2 separate regions of the Homo sapiens genome follow, and region 1 is linked to region 2. The links are contacts of gene promoters, found by promoter capture Hi-C in blood cells and fetal thymus (Javierre and others, 2016). All regions are on one chromosome and are shown on one strand. The core of a region is centred on a gene start or on the middle of the fragment in contact, and the rest is flanking DNA. Distances in the headings are between cores, read along the strand shown.

What was found. The method cuts DNA at HindIII sites, captures the fragments that hold promoters and counts their contacts. A CHiCAGO score of 5 or more calls a contact.
Region 1: a contact is called between a fragment that was not itself captured here and the fragment with the promoter of MARCHF6 in region 2, in 12 of 17 cell types (total CD8 T cells, total CD4 T cells, activated CD4 T cells and 9 more). The highest score is 11.2, in total CD8 T cells.

Annotation. Positions count from the first base shown.
Region 1 is chr5:7,876,817-7,881,920 of GRCh38, forward strand. It overlaps MTRR (5-methyltetrahydrofolate-homocysteine methyltransferase reductase), which reads left to right. Exons shown (of 15, transcript NM_002454.3): 5 at 1,128-1,506. Among named protein-coding and RNA genes, the nearest start is that of MTRR, 10 kb to the left of the region's middle. The HindIII fragment of the contact is 2,641 bases long and covers 2,288-4,928 here.
Region 2 is chr5:10,351,568-10,356,773 of GRCh38, forward strand. MARCHF6 (membrane associated ring-CH-type finger 6) reads left to right here and starts at 2,128. Exons shown (of 26, transcript NM_005885.4): 1 at 2,128-2,350. The coding sequence starts at 2,332. MARCHF6-DT (MARCHF6 divergent transcript) reads right to left here and starts at 2,490. Exons shown (of 3, transcript NR_183261.1): 1 at 2,405-2,490; 2 at 1-206. RefSeq lists enhancers at 1,687-1,946, 2,793-3,364 and silencers at 2,087-2,226, 2,267-2,736. The HindIII fragment of the contact is 4,878 bases long and covers 1-3,535 here.

The sequences.
Region 1 (5,104 bases), core at 2,358-4,857, 2.5 Mb before region 2:
CGTCCTCTTAGAAGAGTGCCTGTCGTCATGTAGTAAACACTCAGTGAACGTTAGTTCTCCTCCTGGTTGTGCACACTATCACCTTAATATTTCTGAGTTGTGAGAGTGATATTTTACATGTAGCTGTTATTGTTGAACTGTAGTTTTATAAACTTGTTTTCACAAAGGCTCCTCAGGGCAGCTCTAATGTGTAACCACATTTTGAGTAGTGTACCACATGAGCACCTCCCGAGCACAGTGAAATGACAACCTGAGTCATAATGACACACGGGCCTGAAATCTGCCTCCTCTTGGTATTCATTTCGCTTTAGGAATTAGAATTTAATTGATCCTCCTTTGAGCTGTGATTAAAAGTGGTGTTATTTCCACAGCCCTGCCACAGTCTTATCCACTGACTCTACTTAAACTTCTCTGTTCAGGGAATGGCTGTTGTTATGATAATTTGTTAGTAGTAGGTGGACTGCCACATTTAAAAAATCTATTTATGATGAATTCAACTTTCCCAAAGGAGGGTTGCTTTTTTTTTCTCCTGTTGTCAGCCTCCCTGGGAATTTTACTAAAATAAAAAAATAAATAAAGGCTTTAACTATTTATTTAGTCCAAGGACTTGGCATTAATCCATAGTGATTTCTTGGTGATATTTTAATCTGTAGGAAACAGATCAGTAGATCAGTAAATTGGCTAGGCAAAAAAAAAAAAAAAAAAAGGTGCATTTGATGGATGGAATGAGCATTTGCAGCATTATGGTAGCCTTGGATTTTGGTTAAGTTCTGTTAGCATTAGTATGCCTATTTAAAATTATATCTTCTTAAAATAAAGTTTACCAATTCTGGAATATTAGGAGGAATTCTATTCCTGTCATCCTATTACTAGAATATCTTCCTATCCCTCTTCATTTCTTCTACCTTTATACATACTCATGTTTTCAGCTACGGTGCTAATGAACACATAATATATCCTGCTTGTTAAAACTTAATCATGAAGTATTTTTTGTATTCCGAATGGTCTTCATAGTGTTTCTAACAAGTGCATACTTTGCCAAATGGACAGACTGTCATTATCCTGTTCTGTGTTCAGATGGAGAACTTAGGCATTTGTTTTGTTTTTCGTTTGTTTTTACTGTCCAGTTTAGAACTTGTGGTTGAGCCGTGGATTGCTGGACTCTGGCCAGCCCTCAGAAAGCATTTTAGGTCAAGCAGAGGACAAGAGGAGATAAGTGGCGCACTCCCGGTGGCATCACCTGCATCCTCGAGGACAGACCTTGTGAAGTCAGAGCTGCTACACATTGAATCTCAAGTCGAGCTTCTGAGATTCGATGATTCAGGAAGAAAGGATTCTGAGGTTTTGAAGCAAAATGCAGTGAACAGCAACCAATCCAATGTTGTAATTGAAGACTTTGAGTCCTCACTTACCCGTTCGGTACCCCCACTCTCACAAGCCTCTCTGAATATTCCTGGTTTACCCCCAGAATATTTACAGGTACATCTGCAGGAGTCTCTTGGCCAGGTAAGGAAGTTTTTCTTTATGCTATAGATGCTATTTAATCATGGATGTTTGCTTTGGGCTTTTAAATTATTATTACATTAGAAGAGAGGTCAACAAACTATGGCTTACTGGCCCAATGTGGCCCAGAGCCTTTCTTTTGTAAATAGATTTTACTGGAACACAGCCATGCCTATTCATTTAGGTAGTGTCTATGACAGCTTTTGAGCTGCAATAGCAGAGTTAGTGGTTACCACAGGGGCCTGCAATGCCTAAGGCATTTGGCCCCTTCCAGTAAAAGTTTTCCCACCCAGGTATTACAAAAGGTCTTGTATTATTACTTCTGTATTTGAAGAAGTAGATAAGAACTCAGTTTCATCATTATTTTGGAGAACTAACAACTTGGTTTCTCATTTTAGATGAGTCAAACAGAGATGAGTTGTGTGGGCAGTGAGTTGAGTATCACATTGCATAATAGCTAATTTCTCCCCACAGGCAGTGTATGGTACCCTGAAGTTTTTCTAACCTGCTTAAAATAAGTTTCCAGAGCAGGCAGTCTTTGAATGCAGGGCTAAGCCCTCTTTCTGTTGAGTGGCTGTTTGGAGTTCCACATGGACTTTTCTTACAAAAACCACACCCTTACTGCAGCTATTACCAGTTTTAATTTCTTGTTTTTTTTAATGAAGACAGATTTAGACATTTAAGAAATAATTTGGATGCAGCATCTTTCTTGTATATTAGCACTGTTTGTAAACACCTGGTATGATAGCAATTTTTTTTAGCATCTTTTATAATGTCTTTCTAAAGCTTTCATGTAAGTATGATTTTGTGTATAAACAACTATGGGCTATTGTTTTTGCACTTGTACTTCATTATTTTGTGAATTGTTTAAGTGAGATAATTGCAGTAAGTGTATCTCAGTCTGGTTTGGGAACAGACACAACTTATGCCTGGACTGGTGGGAGCAGAGTGCAGTGTTGCACCACAGACAGGATCAGTTCATGGCAGCGGGGATAGAGATTAATCATTAATCTGACTAGGAGTTTTAAATTAGCCGGAAGATCTGTTAAGAGTTTATGGGTTTTTTCCGGGAGGCGGAGGTTGCAGTGAGCCAAGATTGCGCCACTGCACTCCAGCCTGAGCGACAGAGTAAGACTCCGTCTCAAAAAAAAAAAAAAAAAAAAAAAGTTTCTGGGTTTTTTCTTAATAGAAAGTGTCATTAAATAGGCTTGAGTTGTTAATAATGTAGTTAAAAGATTTAACAAATCTGAAGTACTTAAGAGAGACAATATAAATATGAAATAATATACTGAGAGAGTAAAGAATTGGGAAAAAAAGAATGTTTTGTAGGGCATCCTCTTGGGACCATTGCCTTGAGGCACAGAGGGGTTGGAAGCAGGATTGGGCACAGTGAGAAGCTGAGCTGCGATGCAGTCTCAACAAAGGCCTCAGTCAGCTCCTCTCCATATGGTACCTTTCTGCCATGTGGAAGTATTACCTCTAATAACCAGAGGGTCTTCTGGGTTGTGTGGTAGAGCGGCAGGACCTGTTAACGAGCACTGTCACTTGGATCTGCTGTAGAGCCCTCTCCTGCTCTGGGCCCCACGCAAAGCTGGTGGCCTTTTCTGTCACCTGGTATTTGGGTCTCAGCAGTCCTCCCAGGTATGGAATGTGCTACCCACAGATCCTGAAGAGACTTAGCAGTGGTTCTGCTTCTCTCTAGAAGTGAGGTACAAGGTGCACTAGTGTGGCCTTCACTTGGGAGGGGATGTCCTGACGTGCACCAAACTGTTAGAACCCTAAAAATTGTGCTGGCACTGCAGGCCCTTTAATTGCATAGGGCATGGGTCTTACCAAAGACCGCACTGTCCTGGCTACTCCTCGTTGCTCATTCAGTCTGATAGCACGATGCCCCTGATAGAGTAGGCTAGTGTGGTGCTTTGCAGGTGTTCCACATTTATTCAGACTCTTATAACAGCAGGCAGGACTTATGATAGCCCTGGGGCATAATTGTAAATTTATACATTGTTCCAGCGCAAAGTGAACTGTTTCTGATCCTCTTTAGTGATAGGGTTGGGAAGGAGCACTTTGACTAAATCATTGTCCGTGTACCTGAGGCCATGCTAGTCTACTTTGTTAAGGAAAACCAGCTTGCACGGAGGTTACAGTGGACCTGTTTCTTGTTTGAGTTTCCAGTAGTTCAGTGTCATCCCCCAGGATTTATGTGGTTTTTGCAGTGGTCAAACTGGTGAATTAAATGGAGATACGATAGAGACCATCCCCTGTGTCCTCCAGCTTTTTAAGGATGTCATTTCTCTCAGGATGCTATTTTGTTTCTCTTGTTCTATCTTGGTGTTTAGGGAGGAGGATGGCGTCAAATTCAGAGACTTCTTCTTGGCCCTCCCCATGATGATAGATCTTAACGTCATAGGCCAATAATTCGGTGTTGCCCTGTGCCAGCTGCTGAGTGGCCACTGGAGGTCCTGGGCCAGGACGCCATTTACCGCCTGGCCCCCATGTGCCTTGCTGTCATAGATGAGCTATGCTGATGCTTTGGGTCCCTGGGTAACAACATTCATTTGAACCCCCTCTTAACAGACCCTGGAATGTTTGCACATTCCCCTTAGCCCAGTGTACATTTCCCCTTTGGGAGAAGGACTGCAGAAGCCATTGTCAAGTACAGTTTCTATAGTGTCTCACAGTCCCTCCTCCTAGGGACCTCTTCTCTCCTACAGTCAGTGGGTTGCAGGTCTGGAAACAGGGCAAAGGATCGTTTTTATTGGAGCAGCGGCCTACAGCTCCTTTTACATGCCTCCTTGATTTCTTTTCATTGTAAGGATTGATCCAGTGCCTTTGTGGGCTGCCCATTTTTTACATCTGTGTTCTGCCCTCCTCAATTTAGGACCTCAGCTGTGTTGTGTGCATTCTCTCCTAGCTCCTGTGGGGGCATAGTGCTCTGTCGTATACTTTCTTAGGGGTTAGTCCCTTACCTTCCTTAGCTAGCCCAGTGCTTTAGTGGCCGAGTGTGTCGCAACAACCCCAGTTATTGGTCTAGCAACCAGAAGAGGGGATGGGGTGTGGTAGTGGGGGTACAGGCATGTGCTGTGGGCAGAGGTCCTTACACCATCCAGATGCGAGAAGGGAGTTCTTACTCTTCATGGGAGGGACTGGCCACATCTGCAGGCTCAAAGAGTTCAAGGGAATCTGGGTAGGAAGATTTTTAAGGGAATCTGGGTAGTCAAGATTTTTAAGGCGTTCTGGGTAGTCAAGATTTTTAAGGGAATCTGAGTATTCAAGATTTTTTTTCCCAGTTAGTCCTTGGCTTTCTCTGCCTTCACTGTCATGGGCTGCATGAGATGACTGTGTCTTTCTAAGCTCCTGAGGATGTCCCCTGGCTTAGTTCTATTTTAGTTTTACTTAGTTCTTAATTGGTGATTTGTCCTTTAAGCTTTTTGCATTTTTTTTCAAGTGCGAGTGAATTTTAGCAGTAGCCCCCCAAGTCCCACCAGTCTTCTCTTCTGCTGTTTCTCTCTAGTTCTCAAGCACCTGATGGATCTTGCAAGGTGATGCATTTGCTTCCACTGGCACTCCCTGCTACTTACGGTTGCATTGTTGCTGTGTG
Region 2 (5,206 bases), core at 878-3,377:
AAATGTTGGGAGCTGTCAGTGGCCTTGTTTCCAGACATATGGAGGAAGCTGGTCTAACAGCATGAAGCCAATGTGCAGAGAGAGTTGCAGAGCTGAGCCATAGGGGCAGAGGCATTCTCGTTCTAGTAGTCCCAGCAGTCCCTCCCCTTCTTGGAGTCTGTCCATATCAACAGTACATTCCTCCCTTCTGCCTAACAGTTGAGTTCCTGTCAATGGCAACCAAGAGAGGTGTGACTGATTCATGTATTCAAAGGGCTGTTGTGAGAACTTGTGCCTGACTCACAGTGGGGACTCAACAAATGTTGGTTTATTACTCTTATATTTAACGCCTAAAGTCTGAATGCGAAAAGGTTAGGGCAATTCCAGAAGGAATTACTATGCAGAAGGGAAAACTGGTTGACAGGTTAACTTTCCTTTGAACATCACAAGGGAAGGCACCTAAATACAAAAGGAAGGCTTCCTCCACGCCCCCCATACACACACATTCCCTTCATCCTAACCTGGCTCTGCAGCTCCGAGGGTCACATACCTGCCCTTGGCACTACTAGTACTTCCTCCAGCAAGTCTCAGTCTTTCTTTCAGAATCCTTCGCCCTTATGCCATGTAACATCTGATCGGCCCGGTCTTTGCCCCTAGTATCAGCAGGCCAATACGTGCTCTGCTACAGGTCTTACAGGGAGGGTGAGCTCTTGGAGTTGGATCAGAAGGAGAGGGGCTGGGGAAAGATCGTCTTCAAATTGTTTCTTTGGCGGTAGTATATATAAACATATTTAGGCAGGGCATAGTGGCACATGTCTGTAACCCCAGCACTTTGGGAGGCCGAAGCGTGAGGATCGCTTAAAGACAGGAGTTGAAAATCATACTGGTCAATATAGTGAGATTGCAGTGAGCCATTATCGCGCCACTGCATTCCTGCCTGGGTGACAGTGCGAGACCCCTTCTCAAAAAAAAAAAAAAAAAAAGAAAGAAAAAAATCATAAGCAAACAACAACAAAAAAACAAATATAAAGAATGGCGGTCTGCTTAATTCTCCGTGCCAGCCCTTGAAATCAGTGGGTATTATTATGTAGAGTTTGAGTTCTTTCCTCCCTTGAGTAACATGAGTGACATCAGTAACATTAGTCAAGCGCTGCTCTTTTTGAAAGACTGTATTTCATTATTTTTATTCTAAACCTTACTCTGTTTGATGAAGATTGGGGGAAGAGCCCTCCCAATTCCACCGCTCACACATAACAGCGGTTGCTAGCATTCTTTATTTGTGCTAGGTCATCTGCATATTGTTTAAACATTTTTCGAGGCTGGAAAGACTGCTCCCACTCAGGCAATTCTGACGTGGCGGCCCTTCTAATTTATATTCTCTAAATAATTCTTCATTTAGAGAAAACAGTCAGGGATTACAGTGAGGGAGGGTGACGTGCTGACGGGGACAGAGCTTGGCTTTTGATCATTCTCCCCTTAGCTCTGCCCAGGCAAGCGTCCCTAACTCAGGGTATCGGAACCGATCTCCCTTAGAGGATTATGTTTCAACCACCAGCCTCAGCGGTTTACTCAAATGTCCTTCCAGCCAAATGCAGAAGTCTCCCTGGGAGTAATTTTGGTGAAGTCAGCTTTTGCCTTTTTCATCACAGGCAGGCTTTAGTAGTTCCTCAAAACGTGCACCACAACTGCCCGGCTGCCAAACAGAAATGCTGATGCCTGGGCCCACTCTAGCCATTTGGCCTCGGCATCACGGTGCGGGAGCGTGGGGCGCAGACTCGCATTGTCACAGGAACCTCCCGGCCTTCCGAAGAGCCCCGCGCCGGGGCCTTTGTCTCGCACGTCGGCTGGGGCGGGAGCTAGGTTCTCGCAGCCTCCTCCCACCGCTCTGCGCCTTCTTTGTCCCTCCAGAAGCCGCCATCAAAGCTCAGCTCCTGATTAGGTTTCGGCCCCGCTGGCCGGCGCAGTCTCGGCGACTACCCCAGGCGGCCTGGCGCACGCGAGGATTCGCCGCGCCCCAGATGCAGGTGCCTCCCCTCCTTAGCCGCCGACCGACAGTGCACGCCGCGGCCGCCGGAAGTGACAGCGCCTGTCGTTGGGGAGCTCCCGCCCCTTCCGCCTCGGCGCCCCGCCCAGGCCTCGCCCCTAGGTGTTCCCGCCCCTCCCCCTCCCGTGTCGCTCGCTTTCTGTCAGCCTCTCTCCCTCTCCCTCTCCCCTCTCCTTCCTCTCGCTTCCTCTCTCGCACCTGAGCGTACGCACCTGCCCGGGCCCGGCTCCCTCCTCCTCTCCCCTCCCTCTTTCCCCGCCCGGCCGCGGGAGCCTCGTGGCTGCGTCACCGCCGCCCCCCCAGACAAGATGGACACCGCGGAGGAAGGTAAGTCGGCGACGCGCGGCGCCCGAGCCCTTGCGTCGGCGCCCGGGTTCGTACCCCGGCCAGGTCCGCGGCGCTCGAGGTGGGCTGCTGGATCGCGGCGGGGCGGACGCCTGGGCCGTTTGTCCACCCGCTGGGCCTCTGGGCCGGGGAGCGGAAGGTGACCCTCTGCGCGCCCCCCGCCGTTTCCCGCCCGCGCCGCCGAGGGGGGCGGGGACCCTGCCGGGCAGGGGCCGGGGCCGGGGTCGGGGCCTCGGGGCTACTGCAGGCCGGCGTGGCCTCCCTTGTCCCCGCCGTCGCGCGCTGGCCCAGAAAAGGGGGCCTCTGTCGCTGCCGTCCGGGGGCGTTTTCCGCACCCTTCCCCCACTGGGTTTTGTCTTTCTTTACGTCCTTCTGCCTATTGCTCGCCAGGCCCTACCCCCTCGCGACAGAACTTCTTTGTTGACTTTGAAACTTCGCGAAAAATACCCCGCCAGATGACGGCCGAGTGGAGTGAGCTGACCCCTGTTGAAAAGCCTGGTCCTCGGCTTGCCTGCCGCTCGAGAATCTGTTTACTAAACGGGGAGGCTCTTTTGTTGCGATCCATTTGGTTTTAAATCCTTGACACCTATAAGCAGGGTTCTGTTTGTTTTGTTTTGCGATTGCTTGTGTTTTGGATACGGTTACATTGAACAAACTGACCCTTGTAAAATGAATACTTAAGATATAAACGTCCACACCTTATGTCTCTTCAAACGCATTTTCTTACCCACTGAAGGTAGTAGATTATTTTTAACCAGCTGTGTTTTTAAATGAGTGGTGAGTTTATAGAGGAAATTACTAAATTTTGCTTTTTTTGATGTTCCGGTTATCGTGCAAATGCTTTTCTACTTTAGGTATATTTATGGGGGTATGAGCGTCTTTCAACCTTATGGGTTGCGATTTTGGCGATTTTAAACGAAAATGAATTATCAAACGCCGTCATGGAGTGCAATAATGAGTGAAAAAAGTTTGATATTATCTATGTAATGAGTTGATAACGACTTATTTTTTTTTAAAGAAGTCTTGCCTTTAATAAATACCTCAACTATAACATGTGGCACTTGATGTACATTCGCGTTCCATCTTCGTAAAAAGCCTGTGGAATAGGTAGGTATTATCTTTTATAGATGTGGAAATGTAGGCTTCGTTATTTTAATAGCTTGTCGAAGCTTTACACAGGTAGTAAGAGGCAGATTTGAACCTAGGCATTCTGATTGCAAGTAATTTCCCTTTCATTATGCCACAGTGTGTTTATTATATACACTGAGTGTAGCTAATCGCCACTGGAGACGCCTTTGGAAAAAATAGTAAAGCGAAACTGCTGAAGGTTGCGAACTATTTCTTTTTGACAGGTGGTCCTTGCGTGTAAATTTCCATCTACATAGGTTTCACATCCTTTTAGATTCAGGTTTTAATGAGTAAATCTAGTAAGGCATGTATTTATCACAGGATAGGTACGGACGTATTACATTCAATTCTCATTCTTTTGGCCTGGGCATTGCTACTTGCATACTTTTATGGTGTGACAGTAATCTGTGGTAATTCAGGAATTGCGCTCGAAGCACGTATGGAATCATGAAATATTTTCACTGTACTTCTAGTGCTTAAATATATTTTTTCTCTTGTAAAATTATAATCAGGATAAGGTATACATAACATTTATTTATTGAACACTGTTGCCTGTTAAAATAACATGTGCTGAAGACTCAACGTGTAGTATGTGCTTTACTAAACACTTTATATACATTTCATTTAATTCTCTCACATCGTTAGGTAGTCGGCATTTTCATTTTACAGATGAGGAAACTGATGGTTAGTATGATTAAGTAACTTGTCCAGGATAATACAGGTAGTAAATGGCAGAGGCAAGATTCAGACTCATGTCTGTCAGAGTCGCACTTAAATTAGATTATTTATTTATGAGTGTATACTACAAGTCCAATGTTGAAATTTATTTTTGTCACTCCCTCTATAGGATGAATCATTTATATAATTTGGTGGAAACTTTATTTTGCTTTATTTTGTTTTATGAAATTATTAGTCATGAAATGCAAGTGAATTTTAGTGCCGTATTCTCATGCCTGCTTTTGCAAAATTCCAGTTTGGAAGTCTTCTGACATTTTTACAATTAAATTTAAGTTGAAATAACACTTAAAGGAAAAGGGAGGGTTATAGAGGATTAAAAATGATATAGCAAAGATGCCAAAAAACTAATAAAAAATGTTCTATTTGTGAAATCAGTTATTATAGGTTATTTCTTTAAAAAATGCGACTTAGGTTTTTTAAATCTGCTTAGAAATTTTTTGGTAGGAGATATTCAAAGTATGGCCAAACATAAAACTAAATTAAAAAAAAATCAGTATCACCTACTTTTGAAAACACTTATACTGTTGTGGTTCTGTTTTTTATTTATTTTATTTTATTTTATTTTATTTTATTTTATTTTATTTTATTTTATTTTATTTTATTTTATTTTCCGAGATGGAGTCTTGCCCTGTTGCCCAGGCTGAAGTGCAGTGGCATGATCTCTGCTCACTGCAACCTCCACCTCCCAGGTTCAAGCGATTCTCCTGTCTCAGCCTCCTGAGTAGCTGGGATTACAGGAGCGCGCCACCTCCCTCTGCTAATTTTTGTGTTTTTAGTAGAGATGGGGTTTCGCCATGTTGGCCAGACTGGTCTCAAACTCCTGACCTCAGGTGATCTGTCCGCCTCAACCTCCCAAAATGCTGGGATTACGAGCGTGAGCTACCGTTCCTGGCCGGTTCTCTGTCCTTTAAAAATATATTTTAATATTCTGAGCAAAGAGATTAAGAATGTTACAAACACATCAACCGTGCG